Regions from separate parts of the Homo sapiens genome. Here region 2 is linked to region 1. Evidence: promoter capture Hi-C in 16 types of primary human blood cells and fetal thymus (Javierre and others, 2016). All regions are on one chromosome and are shown on one strand. Each heading gives the region's core, a stretch centred on a gene start or on the middle of the fragment in contact. The rest is flanking DNA. Distances are from core to core; before and after follow the strand shown.

Evidence for each region. The method cuts DNA at HindIII sites, captures the fragments that hold promoters and counts their contacts. A CHiCAGO score of 5 or more calls a contact.
Region 2: a contact is called between a fragment that was not itself captured here and the fragment with the promoter of RTN4R in region 1, in 3 of 17 cell types (neutrophils, total B cells and naive B cells). The highest score is 8.1, in neutrophils.

What each region holds. Positions count from the first base shown.
Region 1 is chr22:20,264,380-20,271,382 of GRCh38, reverse strand. It overlaps RTN4R (reticulon 4 receptor), which reads left to right and starts at 3,065. Exons shown (of 2, transcript NM_023004.6): 1 at 3,065-3,312. The coding sequence starts at 3,291. RefSeq lists silencers at 2,802-2,861, 2,912-3,071, 3,162-3,321 and an enhancer at 3,533-4,221. The HindIII fragment of the contact is 20,492 bases long and covers 1-7,003 here.
Region 2 is chr22:19,952,365-19,959,367 of GRCh38, reverse strand. The region is part of intron 1 of COMT (catechol-O-methyltransferase); the gene reads right to left. Among named protein-coding and RNA genes, the nearest start is that of MIR4761, 7.9 kb to the left of the region's middle. RefSeq lists a silencer at 3,473-3,640 and enhancers at 3,943-4,594, 4,859-5,480, 5,481-6,104. The HindIII fragment of the contact is 2,768 bases long and covers 1,830-4,597 here.

The sequences.
Region 1 (7,003 bases), core at 1,816-4,315:
ATGATCCTCTCAGGGGACAGGCGAGGTGAACAAAGGAGGGATGGTGACCAGCTGACCAGGACCTGAGGCATTAGCGTCTGCCTCGTCCACATGCTGTGCAAGCTCAGCGAGGCCAAGGGACTGGGCTGAGGTCACACAGCTGGGCAGGGCCCTCATGACCGGCATGCTGGTCGTGGAGGCTGAGCCCCACATTTTGGGTGTGGGTGTGGGTGGGAGGTGAGACAGCCCCTGGCCTCACTGTAGAGGGGTGGTGGGCTGGGGAAGCTGGCAAAGAATGTGCCCCACATGGTGGGTGTGAGGTGGGGAACGATTCGGGCAGATGCCCGTGTGGCCCTGCTGACCCAGTCCAGGCAGGGTGTGACAGGTCTGTGTGGCCCTGAGGGCACAGCTGTCTGCAGTCTCCAGCTCACTCCTGATCCCCAGGGCCACGTGTCCAGAAAGCCTGGGAGCTTGCATCAGCTGGGCACAGATGGCCTGTCCTCCCAGCACCCCTGATGGGGCTTCCTAGGAACTGACTGGTGTAGACTCCGGGCAGCAGACGGCCAGGCTCTGCCCACAGGGTCCCTGGCTCCTCCCACAAGGTGACCCGATAGAACTGGTTGTGCCCCTTGACCAGGGGCTCCAGCCCTTGTCAAGCCCTCCCTGCTAGCCCCTCACCAGCCGTCAGCTGCTCCCCTTCTTGCCCGTTGGGCCCTGGGGGGTGATGGCTCCGTGGTCGCCTGCCCAAAGAGTACACCACTCCCCATGCTACCCCTCACCCGGCTACACCCTGAAAAATGTGGCTTACCAAACCCTCCCACATGCGCAGCCTGAGAAGTGGGCTGTGCCTTGCTGGTAGCAGACCCACCGGCTGCCTAGCCCTGCTCAACTCTGCCTCTGCACCCCCATAACTCCCTATCAGCGCTGGCCGACGCCTAACCATCCCAGCTAGCACCCAGGAGTGGGCCCAGCTTCCAGTGGGGAGGGTGCTGGCCAACGTGCTGACCGAGGTGGCGGACACAGGAAACCAGCCCATCCCCCAGCGCTCCCTCTGCAGGCCTCAGCCCTGCTCCCATGCAGAGACCTGTGGGGAGGTGGAGGCCCAGGTCCCAGCGCAGAGCAACCGGGAACAGCCAGGTTGGTGGCTGGAGAGGGTGCTGGTGCCAGAAGCCTCCAGGGCCACCCCTGCTCCCCATTTCACCCCATGCCCATCCCATGCCCCAGAATGGTCACTTCGGCTGCGGCAGGAGGGGTGGGAGGGGCTTTAAACCTATGAGATAGGGTGTGGGGTCACAATCTTCAGCTATAGTGGGCTGCTCTGGGTCACTGGTAATTGAAGAGACGCCTGCGGAGTAAGCAAGCAAGTGTCCTCTCAAGGCCTTTCTGCAAGCACAGAGCAGCCCGAGACTGGAGCCTGGTCCACCCCAGCGCTGTCCTCAGACTGATGGTCAGTGCCACGTGACTCATCTAGGGTCTGATACATCCCTGTGGAGAGAGCTCAGTTCCTAGCCTGGGGGCTGCTGTGTGCAGGGACCCTGGAGAAGAATGCTTGTCTGGGGGTCAGGCCTCAGCCTCCCACTGGCTCTGTGAGCTTCGCCTGAGGTTCCCTATCTGTGCAATGGGTGATGACGTCTTGGTGTGGCTCTGGGAGGACCTGTTGAGCCACCTCAGGGGCTGAGCTGGTGGCACTCGGCAGCCAGCACCCTCTGGGGAGGTGGCAGTGTGTGCACAGCCCACCCCTTCAGGAGGCCAGGGGACAGAGTGGCTGGGGGTGTCTGGGCCCCACCTCACCTTCTGTGTGGCTGGGAATGGCATGCACTCCACAATGCCCTCATAAGCCTAGGCTGGGACAAGGGTGATAGGGATAAAGCAGGCCAAAGTGATGAGGGCCACAGAGCGGCAGCCAGAGGCATGTGGGCAGTGCAGCCTCCACACCAGGCAGAGGGCCCACCCAGCATGGCTCCACCCTGCGAAGCTGCCTGCCACTGGGATCAGATGGGAGCACCAGGGCTCTGGGAGGTCCTCACTTCCTCTGCACAAGGCAGGCAGGTCACCGGCCCTGCGCCCTGCTCATCTCCCTCAGGGCCACCTCCATGGCCAGGGGCAGGCAGAGGGCACAGGGGTGCCCAGTCACCAGGTCTCTCTGCTTCATATCAGTGGACCTGGGCTCTGAGGGGGGCCATCAAGGCATCAGGCTGGCCCACTCCGTCCTTGAGTCAGGGTCCTACAGACTGACACCAGGTGGGCCTGCAAGACCCTCATCTGCATGGTCCTCTCATGCAGGGTGGGCCTGGGGAGGACCCAGCCCGGCTGAGCTGACTCCCAGCACTTCTCCAGGTGCAGGGGCAGCCTGGCAGTTGTCTGAAGACCCCGGGATGCACTTAGGAGCTCATCGGTGAGGCCCGGTAGGTGCCCCGAGCAGAAGATTGAGAAGGGACACCTGCACCCCTGTGTGGTGTGTGCAGGGGCGTCACTGGATTCTCTGGCCCCATGCCTCACACCGCCCGTGGGGGGCTGGCTTGGTAGAGTGGGGGGATACTAAGCAGGTGACCTCGGAGAGCGTCTTCTGGGTTTGGAGCCCCCATTCCGCAGAAGGGAAGAGGTGGGGGACCCCTGCAGGGTTACGGGTAACATCAGGCCTAGGTCCCTTCTCTAGGATGGTGCAGAGAGGGCCACAAAGGCCCAGGAGGGCCCCCAGAACTCTCTTAAGCCCTGAGCCTGTTTCTTACTGAAAAATGGGGGCGATCGTGCTGCAGCAAGGGGCTTCTGTGCAGGGGGCGGGGGATTCATGGGTTTCGTGAGGCCAGGAAGGGAGTGGGTCAGGCAGAGGCCATTCCTAGGCCTCGGGACAAAGCCCTTGCCCGCTTGGGGACCGGGCCAGCCTAGGCCGCCACACCCTCGGGCCCGCGTCCCCGGCCGGCTCCGGCCCGGGCCGCCATCCCCTCCGCCGCCTGCAGGGGCCGCCGCCTCTTCAGGAATGCGCCGCCTTTGTCTGGGACCGCGCGGCGCCGGTGCACCGGGCGGGCTGAGCGCCTCCTGCGGCCCGGCCTGCGCGCCCCGGCCCGCCGCGCCGCCCACGCCCCAACCCCCGCGCCGCCGCCGCCCTCGCCCTGTGCGCCCTGCGCGCCCTGCGCACCCGCGGCCCGAGCCCAGCCAGAGCCGGGCGGAGCGGAGCGCGCCGAGCCTCGTCCCGCGGCCGGGCCGGGGCCGGGCCGTAGCGGCGGCGCCTGGATGCGGACCCGGCCGCGGGGAGACGGGCGCCCGCCCCGAAACGACTTTCAGTCCCCGACGCGCCCCGCCCAACCCCTACGATGAAGAGGGCGTCCGCTGGAGGTGAGTGTCCGCGCTGCACCCGAGCCCGGCCGGCGGCGGGGCGCGGAGGGGGGCGGCTCGCCCCCTCCCCGGAGCCGCAGGGCCCGTCCCGGGCTGCCGAGGCGAGGGAAGCGTAGCCGGGCGGCAGGGAAAGCCACCGCAGTGCCGCGCCAGGCTGGGGCCGCTGGCGCCCCGGCCCCGGGAGGGCGGAGCCGGAGGCGGCAGGAAAAGTTGCCGCTTCCCGGGAAAGTTGACGGCTTCGGCAGGGCCGAGGGTGGCGGTCCGAGGGTCCCCGATGCTGGGCCAAGTCGAGGGCGGGGGCCGTGGGCTGGAAGGGCGGGGCCCGGCCTCGGAGCGCCCCGGCCACCAAGGGGTTAACGAGCGGGTTTTTGCAGAAACGTGGGTACCGAGGGTGGGTGGGGGTGTCGGGCCGCCTCCACCCCAGCCTCACGGTCTGGGCTCAGAACCTCCCGTTTCTCCGAGGTCAGTCCACAGTGGGATGAATGGGGGCGTTGGCGGCAGTAGAGGGCGTGGGGGACAGGGTTGTCCCAGCGCTGCCTCCAGGGCGGGCGGTGAGAGGAGGCAGCAACGCCCGCCATCTGCAGCCCGAGGGACATTGAGAGGCTTGGCTGGGGGAATCAGGGGCGGTGGGGCAATCAGCAACCCCTCCCTAGCAGCCCTCGTGGGACTCCCCCGCCCCACCGGCTGTGAGGTCCCGCGGTGCGGGCAAGGGAGGGTGGGCTCCATGTGAGTTGGGCATGCCCCGCCTGGAGGGTGCTCCCCAGGTGCCCACCCAGGCTGCCCTGCTGATGTCCATGGTGCCGCAGGCTGCACACACGTTTCCTTGCACGTGCACTTGTCTACACGGACTGCACACTTGCACACCTCTGGTGCACATGCAAGCCAACGCCGCCCCAGTGTGCACATGCACAAACACTGGGTGCACACACGGACTCTGAGGGTGCATATCTGTGTCCTCGCCCCCGCCTGCACACCCACGGCCACACATGCATGCACGCGGCATGCCTGCTGTGGTCTCCACGGGTGGCACATGCTGGGGCCCCTTTCGCAATAACCACTCCCGCACCCACATGCTCGTCTGTTGAGTGGGGAGGCCAGGCCCACAGACAGGGGCAAGACATCCTGGGCCCCACCTCTGCCTGCCTGCCTCCGTGTCCTGGGGGTCCCCGCCTCGGGCTTGTGTGCGTGTGTGTAACTTGGTATGCATCTGCACGTGTGTCTGTGCGCGTGATCATGTGTGCCTGCGGGCACATAGGCATGTCTCTTTGCCTCCAGGGTGTGGGTGCCCCTTGTGTGCCTAGACAGGCTGTGGCCTAATCTGGAGCAGAGGCCCTGGAATGTGTGTTGGGGGCTCGTTGAATACCGCAAAGCCCAGGGTGTGAGGGGCAGGGTCTCCCAGCCACTCCCTACCCACCAGGGCTGAGGCAGATAGATGATGGTGGGCTGGAACCTGTCTGGGCAGGGAAGACCCATTTCAGGCCATGAGGTCAACACTGTGACCAACAGGCCAGACCCTGGGCACCCTTGGTGGCCGCTGCAGCTTGGCTGACTGGAGCACGTGACCCAGCGTGACTGCAGAGGCCCCGCCTCCAGTGCCTCAGTTTCTCCATGGTGAGGACCTTCTTGGTGAGGGGTTCTGTGGTGGGCTCCCCTACCTCCGGTGTTGTGTAGGGTGCTGAGCAGATGGATGCCATGCTGCATGATGGGCAAGGGTGGCCCACTAGCACTGTGGCAAGGGCCCTGGGCTGGGGCTTGGATTGGCAGGCCACACCTCCTGCTCCCCTGGCCACCACCAGAGGCTCATCTATAGAGTGGGGACCAGCAGGTTATCCTTGTAGGTTGTGTGAGGGTGAAACATACTAGCAGAGGGGCAGCTGAAGCAGTGGGGCTGGCCAGTCTCTTTTTCTAAGCCTCAGTCTTCCCATCTATAAAGGGGGTACTGTTCCCTGTTCTTCTCTACTGAGGTGAGGAGGAAGTGAGCTCCCATGCCGGGGGTGGGAATGGGTGGCCATCAGCACCTAGACGCCACCTGGCAGAGGGGCACGTGCAGGGCCTGCCGTGGCAGAACCGTGACCTGGATTTGGGTCCTGGCTCAGCCACCTGCTGGCGGTGTGACCTTGGGTGTGACAGGTCGCCTCTCTGCCTCAGTCTTCCTCACCTGCACCATGGGCCAGTGGTCAGGGATTATCGGGGCACTTCCAGGCTGAGGCTGGGCGGAATTGGCCCGGCTTTCCCTGTGGAGTTCTGACTCTGGTGCTTCTGCCTCAGAATGCCCACAACACCTCCCCACACCCCCACTCAGCAGAGTCCTCCTGGGACCTTTGCACTGCCAGCTGGCCCCTCACCCCATCCATGTGCAGAAGGGACAATAAAAGCCCCTAGTCAGGCAACTCGGGCCACAGGTGAGTGGAGAGGGGACAGGGCAGGGATGCTGCCCAGCTTGGGAGACCCTCCCATAGTACCTTCACTCCCTCCCTGCCCTCCCCCTGTTCCTCACCTGGGGGTCTGTGGAACCCCTGAGCCTCAGTTTCCCCGTGCCAGGGTCCTTCTGCTGGGACTGGCAGAAACGTAGGTTTGCATGGAGTGAGAAGCAGGGGAGAGGCTGAGGGAGGGCCTGGCCCAGCACGTCTCTGAAAGCCAGAGGGCTTGTGGAGGGTCCATGGAGGACACCCCTACAGGGGCTGGGGCCCTGGAAGGTGGGGGAAGGTCCTGCTGTCCTGGGAGGCTGGGAACTGGCCCACAGCCTGTGGAGGGGCCAGGGTTTGTTTGCTGTTGCTGTGAGTGACAGGCAGGCTGTGAGGGCCAGGGTGTGTGGGACCGTGCTCTCCCCCTCCCTCTGCCCAGGAACAGTGCAGCCTTGTAGCATTGCCCTCTCCTCGTCCCTGCCCCAGCCTTGAATTCATGCTTTGTGGCACGGACGGCCCTGTGCAGCCGGTGCAACACCAGGAGGGTCCAGCTGGTGAGGACAGGACGGGCGGGAGGCAGAGGAGCCCTCCTGCTGTCCTGGGCCTGTGGCCCGGAACCTCTCACCGGGAGCCTTGGTCTGTGCACCTGGGAAAGGGGTCAAGAGCAGGAAGCACACGGGGAGTTTCAGGATGACCTGGAAATGAACAAATGCGTGTGTGAGCCAGGCGCCCCGCCCGGCCCTGGCACAGGGTTAGTGAGGGCTCCTGACACTTGGCTACTATCTGATCAATGAGGTTCATGCCGTCCCGCCCCCATTCTGGTGAGCCTGACCTCTGACCCCCAGGCTGGTCTGCCTGACCCTCTGCAGCCACCCAGGGCCTGGGCCTCAGGGTCTGCGGGAGCTGGCTTGGCCGCCTGCTGCCTCTGCAGCTGTGCAGATGCCCTCTCGGGTCCCTCTCTGCACCCCTCAGTGTCCCTGCTCTGCGGTCTGGCTGCACCCAGGCCAAGGTCACAGGCACCCTCCTCAAAGCCAGATCCCAGATGCTGCATTTGCCCCAACCATCCATTCACTTTCTCATTTGTTCATTCATTCACTCGTTCGTTCCTAGCCTGTCAGATTCTCTTCTGAGCCAGGCAAATCAAGGGGTGTGATCCTTGGCATCGGGCATCTCTAGGATTAAATGCTTTAAAGGATAGGAGGTCACAGAGTGGCCCAGGGAAGCCCGATCGGAGCGGCGGGCATGCTGCCCCACCCCACAAATCTCCCTGCACTGTCCCTGGGGCC
Region 2 (7,003 bases), core at 1,964-4,463, 310 kb after region 1:
CCGAGGGCTGACCCTGCGCTGTCACCGGCCACTGCCCAGTTTCGCAGGACGAAAGAGCAGGCAAGTGAGAAAATGGAGGGCGGGTCCTGAAAAGCCGAGAATCAGGCCTCCCTTTAAAGAAAGCCACGTAGAAACCCACCTGTGCTACTCAAAGCTGCTCGGATGTTCCCAGCCCTGGGATTTTGCCCCGTCAGCCCTCCATGGGGAAAAGGAACAGCTCCTTTAGTTTGGGGTCCCAGGACTCGAGAGTGGGCACGCCAGCTCAGTGTCCGACTCGGGACCCCCTATGATCCGATCGCCCTACTTTGGCTGTGTGGTCTGGGGAGCGTCAAGAGTCCCCCCTTACCTTACAGAGAGGCAAAAAGACAGTTTTGAATGCCCCTGTGGTGGGGGGCGGTGGGGTGCAGGCCGGAGGACCGAGGGGAATTCTCTCTGCTTTTGTGTATGTTTGAAATGTGCTTTTTTTTTGTTTTTTTGAAACAGGGTCTCACTCTGTCGCTCAGCCTGGAGTGCAGTGGCGCGGTCGCAGCTCACTGCAGTCTCGACCTCCTGGGCTCAAGGGATCCTCCTGCCTCAGCCCCCCCAAGTAGCTGGGACGACAGATGTGCACCACCGCACACCCAGCTTTTTTTTTTTTTTTTTTTTGGTAGAGATGGAGTGGAGGTGGGGTCTCGATATTTTGCCCAGGCTAGTCTCCTGAGCTCAAGTGCTCCACCCCCTTGGCCTTCCAAAGTGCTGGGATTACATGCATGAGCCACCGTGCCCAGCTGGCTTTTTTTTTTTTTTTTTTTTAAGGAAAATAACAAGTGTTAGCAAGGATGTGATGAAATGGGAACCCTCTTGCATTGCTGGTGTGAATGCCGTGGAAAACAGTTTGGTAGTTCTTCAAAAAGTTAAACATGTGGTCAGACCTGGTGGCTCATGACTGTAATTCCAGCACTTTGGGAGGTTGGGATGGGAGGATTGCTTGAGCCCAGGAGTCCCATACCAGTCTGGGAAACATGGCAAGACCCCATCTCTACAAAAAACTTAAAAATTAGCCAGGCGTGGTGGTCCGCACGTGTAGTCCCAGATACTTGGGAGGCTGAGGCGGGAGGATCACCTGAGCCCAGGAGGTTGAGGCTGCACAGGGCTGTGATCCTGCCACTGCACTCCAGCCTGGGCAACAGAGCAAGACCCCGTCTCAAAAAAAAAAAAAAAATTAAACATGCTATGCACCCACAAATATTAAAAAATTCTTAAAAACCCACAAAAATTAAAAATAAAAAAAAGTTAAAATAGAACTACCATATGACCCAGCAATTCTACTCCTAGGTGTATACCAAGAATTGAAAACAGGGACTAAACCAGATACTCGTACCCCAATATGCATAGCAACATCATCCACAATGGCCAACAGGTAGAAACAACCCTTCCATCCGTTAGCACCTGAATGGATAATAAAACATGGTAGAGCCATACAATGAGGTATGATTCAGTTATTAAAATGAATAAAGTACAGATGAATTCACGGTTCATCAAAATGGATGAACCTTCTGCACCGGCTGCCTGGCCATCGGCTCGCAAGCTCATGAGACCCCCGTGAGGTCCACATTCCCTCCTCTGTGAAACGGCTGATGGTCTTACCTCTCCAGCACAGTAGAGGGCAGGCATGATCGTGCCCACACAGCACCTGCACATGCTTGCCACATGCACGCCACATGCAGATGCACGTGTGAGGGCATCCTCAGTGCCTCACAGTGCGGCCAGGACACAGGCAGCTGGGCTTGACACCTCTGGCTCTAAAGAGCATGAAGCTTCTGGGCCTCAGTGCCAGGCCTGCCCAAGCTTCTCTGCCCAGCAGTCTGCTGCAGAGCTAGAGAGTCCATCACCTCTGTCACCTGGTCAGTATTCTCTCTCACATTGGACACACCCTAGATGACATTCATCTGCCTTTATTTTATTTCTTTAGAGACAGGGTCCTGTTCAATTGCCCAGGCTGGAGTGCAGTGGCGTGATCAAGGCTCACTGCAGCTGCAGCCTTGAACTCCCAGGCTCAAGGCATCCTCCTGAGTAGCTGGGACCACAGGTGCACACCACTGCATCTGGTCTCATCTTTCTTTAAAAGACAGGAATGCTGGCCGGGCGCGGTGGCTCATGCCTGTAATCCCAGCACTTTGGGAGGCCGGGGCGGGCAGATCACGAGGTCAGGAGATCGAGACCATCCTGGCTAACACAGTGAAACCCTGTCTCTACTAAAAATACAAAAAATTGGCCGGGTGTGGTGGCAGGCACCTGTAGTCCCAGCTACTCGGGAGGCTGAGGCAGGAGAATGGCGTGAACCCCAGAGGCGGAGCTTGCAGTGAGCCGAGATCACGCCACTGCACTCCAGCCTGGGTAACAGAGTGAGACTCCGTCTCAAAAAAAAAAAAAAGACAGGAATGTTTTCCATAAATATACTGCAAGTAACATCAGTGAAATGAGACTCTTAAAAATCCTTTAAAATATGAACTATGGCTGGAACAGTGGCCACACCTGTAATCCCAATACTTTGGGAGGCTGAGGCAGGAGGATCACTTGAGCCCAGGCGTTCAGGACCACTCTGGGCAACATAGTAAGACCCTGTCTCTATAAGAAATTAAAAAATAAACTAATTATATGACCTGGTTTCTAGGCTCATTTTAAAAAATCCGTAAAAGATAACTAGAAAATGGGCCTGGTGTGGTGGCTTACGCCTGTAATCCCAGCACTTTGGGAGGCCAAGGCGGGCAGACCACAAGGTCAGGATTTCGAGATCAGCCTGGCCAATATGGTGAAACCCTGTCTCTACTAAAAATACAAAAATTAGCCAGGCTTGGTGGCAAGCACCTGTTAGTCCCAGCTACTCAGGAGGCTGAGGCAGGAGAATAGCCTGAACCTGGGAGGCAGAGGTTGCAGGGAGCTAAGATCACTCCATTGCACTCCAGCCTGGGTGACAGAGCGAGACTCCGTCTCAAAAAAAAAAAAAAAAAAAAAAAAGAGAGCTCAAGACCATCCTGGCCAACATGGTGAAACCCTGTCTCTGCTAAAAATAACAAAAATTAGCTGGGCGTGGTGGTGTGTGCCTGTAGTCCTGGTTACTCAGGAGGCTGAGGCAGGAGAATCACTTGAACCCGGGAGGCGGTTGCAGTGAGCTGAGATCACACCACTGCACTCCAGCCTGGGCAGCAGAGCGAGACTCCATCTCAAAAAAAAAAAAAAAAAAAAAAAAAGAAAAAAAGAAAAAAAAGAAAGAAAGATAACTAGAAACTGACTTTGTTCTCTTTGCAAAGATCTGGGGTCCATCAGTTTTTCATTCTGCTATCACCTCTGTCAGAAGAGTGATTGACACTTTGGTCTCTATTCACCCACATCCTCCTGCTCAGGAAGGTGTCTTTCTCCTCCTCCTGGGAGAAAGACAGCTACCAGGGGCCACGGAGAGAAAGACTGGGCTGCACAGCAAGCTCAGGAGACCTCAGGTTGTGCTCTGAAATGGCTGTGCATCCTCCGTTCTCCACAGAGGGCCAACATGCGGCTGCAGTGACCCTCGGAAAGGCCACTGGCCATTTGGGGCACACTGTTCTCACTATTCCAGAACACAGAACCAATGCTAACAGCACCCTGCACACTGAGAGCCACTGTGGCTTGGACGTGCCTCATCCTGCCCTCACAGGGCTGGTGGCCCAGTCGGGGAGACAAGCATAGAGCCACAGGCGTGATGACAAACAGGACACAGATGGCAGGAAGGAGGCCAGTTCTAAGCGTTTACACACGGGGCAGCTCTGCTCGGCACACAGGTCCCCCACGGGGGCTGCAGAGGGCCCTACCTGGGGCTTGCTCAACAGGGCTGGAAACCCCCAGCAAAGGCTGGAACTGCTGCAAGAAGCCCTGCCCTTTGGGGCTGATCCGGTGTGATAAAGGGGGACCAGGATTCTGGCAGGGGATTCGACTGCGATCCAGTAATCCAGGGAGAGCCAGTACAGGTGCGTAGAGACAGGCCAGGCAGCACCAGGTAGGCCACACGCTTGGGCAGCGCCTGTGGACAGGCTGAGAGGACACCTGGAGGCCAGCCTGGGAGACCCCACAGGCTGCAGCCAGGCCCCGCGCTCATCTCTGGACCCAGGGGCTGGCCACTCACCTCCATCCAGCCTCTGGGAATCTAAAGGAATGACCAGAAGTTTAATGGCCACAAAATACCCATTGAGCCAGGCATGGTGGTGTGCCTATAGCTGCAGCTACTCAGGAGGCTGAAGTGGGAGGATTGCTTGGGCCCAGGAGTTGGAGGCTGGAGTGAGCCATGATTGCACCATGTCGTCCATCCTGGGCGACAGACACTGTCTCTAAAACAACACCACAATAAAAATGCCATCAAATCCAGATGGGGCCTCGCCTCTTTCTGGCAGCACTCTGGGAGTGTCCCCCTCCTGCCACTGTCTCATAACCCCCAGTACAAGAAGCTGTCATTTCTCCAACCTGCAGAGAGGAAGGAGGAGGCAGAGGACTAGCCTCTCACCCCGGTGACACCTGAGAAGAGGTGAGACAGTGCACCTGCTCTGGGCACCCTGCGAGGGGCCTACCTGCTATTTCTGTAAATGAAGCTTTATCAGAACGCACAATCAACCAGGCACGGTGGCTCACGTCTGTAATCCCAGCATTTTGGGAGGCTGAGGCGGGTGGATCACCTGAGGTCAGGAGTTCAAGAACAGCCTGACCAACATGGTGAAACCCCAGTCTCTATTAAAAATACACAATTAGCCAGACATGGTGATGCATGCCTGTAATCCCAGCTACTTGGGAGGCTGAGGCAGGAGAATCGCTAGAACTCGGGAGGTGGAGGTTGCAGTGAGCCGAGATGGTGCCATTACACTCCAGCCTGGGCAACAAGAGTGGGACTCCATCTCAAAACAAAACAAAACAAAAAACGCACAATTGCACAGACATTGTCCGTGGCTGCTCTCATCCGACCATGGCAGAGGTGAGCAGTTGCAACAAAGACTGCACCCTACATAGGGAAAGGGGCTGGTGTGGAAGGGAAGGGGTCAGAATGGAAGGTCAGATGGCCAGGCAGAGGGCAGCCTCCTGTAGCCTCCCCCGCCTGGTATCCTCAGTGGGGCCAGGCCCCCAGGCTCAGGGGAAGGCTTTTTTTTTTTTTGACTCAATACCTAATAGCTAAAGGGAAGGCTTTCACACGGACTGCACACCTGCTTCAAGCCAGGTGCTGCAGGGACCACGGTGACTTTGTCTTCACAGACACACCAAGAGGCAGATGCAAGGGCTGGGCTGAGAGAGGCAAGAGGCTGCACTGCACCTGCAGATTCACAGCCCCAGGGGGCCAGCTGGGCCATCCCTGCCTGTGGGGCCCCTCCACTCCTTTACTGTGGCCCCGTCGGGGCCCCCTCCCCTCCCTTCCATGGGCCAGACCTGCATGGTGGTCGCACATTCGCTTTATCCTTCAAGGGTGTTCTCCTGGTCACATCCGATTCTGCCTTGGCACCTGCTTGGAGGCCCCCTGCAGGTCAACCTGCTCATGTGGCAGGAGCTCAGTGTCCCGGCTCCCAGCAGAGGGCAGGCCTGGGGCAAGAGTGGAGGCTGGCTTGGCTCAGTGTGGAGGGGACAGAAAGGACAGGGGTGCCTTTAGGGAGGGGCAGAAAGGGCCTGGACATGCCTAGTGGGGTGACGTGCAGGCTGGCCATCTGCCCCGCTGGACTGAGCCCGGGAGCCTGCCCTGCCTGGGAATGGGGACTATTTTGGCAGCTGCTGAGTACTGTAAACAAAGCCGGCTGGGTGCAGTGGCTCACGCCTGTAATCCCAGCACTTTGGGAGGCTGAGGCAGGCAGATCACAAGGTCTGGAGTTGGAGACCATCCTGGCCAACATGGTGAAACTCTGTTTCCACTAAAAATGCAAAAAATGAGCCGGGCATGGTGGCGGGTGCCTGTAGTCCCAGCTACTCGGGAGGCTGAGGCAGGAGAATCGCTTGAACCGTGGAGGTGGAGGTTGTTGCAGTGAGTGGAGATAGTGCCACTGCACTCCAGCCTGGGCAACAGAGCGAGACTCTGTCTCAAAAAAACAACAACAAAAAAACAAAGCCCCAGCATCTGGACCAGGCTCTGGGCCAGGCCTGCATCCAGACCGCACTGGATGTGAGTGGAATCTGACCTCCTCATTGCTCTCCTCAAGGCTGAGTGGCAGCCCCACCCCCAGCGCCCAGGCCATGAGTCCTGAGGCCCACCGTGGCAGCAGCCTGGACAAAGACTCCCCCATCACACTCCGGCCAGGCTCCTCTGAGCACGTTTCTCGGCTGAGCCTCACCTTGGCCTATCAGGCCTTGAACAAACACTAACAAAGCTGCTGCTGCTTCATTTTATTTATTTATTTATTTATTTATTTATTTATTTATTTATTTATTTATTTATTTTTTGAGACGGGCTGTCACTCTGTCACACAGACTGGAGTGCAGTGGCGCGATCTCGGCTCACTGCAACCTCCGCCTCCTGGGTTCAAGCGATTCTCCTGCCTCAGCCTCCTGAGTAGCTGGGATTATAGGCTCACACCACCACGCCTAGCTAATTTTTGTATTTTTAGTAGAGACAAGGTTTCACCATGTTGGTCAGGCTGGTCTTGAACTCCTGACCTTGTGATCTGCCCACCTCGGCCTCCCAAAGTGCTGGGATTACAGGCGTGAGCCACTGCGCTCGGCTGTTTTTTTTTTGTTGTTGTTTTGTTTTGTTTTGAGACGGAGTCTTGCTCTGTCTCCCAGGCTAGAGTGCAGTGGCGCAATCTCGGCTCACTGCAAGCTCCATCCCCCGGGTTCATGGCATTCTCCTGCCTCAGCCTCCCAGTAGCTGGGACTACAGGCGCCCGCCACCACGCCCGGCTAACTTTTTTGTGTTTTTGGTAGAGACGGGGTTTCACCATGTTAGCCAGGATGGTCTCGATCTCCTGACCTCATGATCCGCCCGCCTTGGCCTCCCAAAGTGCTGGGATTACAGGCATGAGCCACCGCA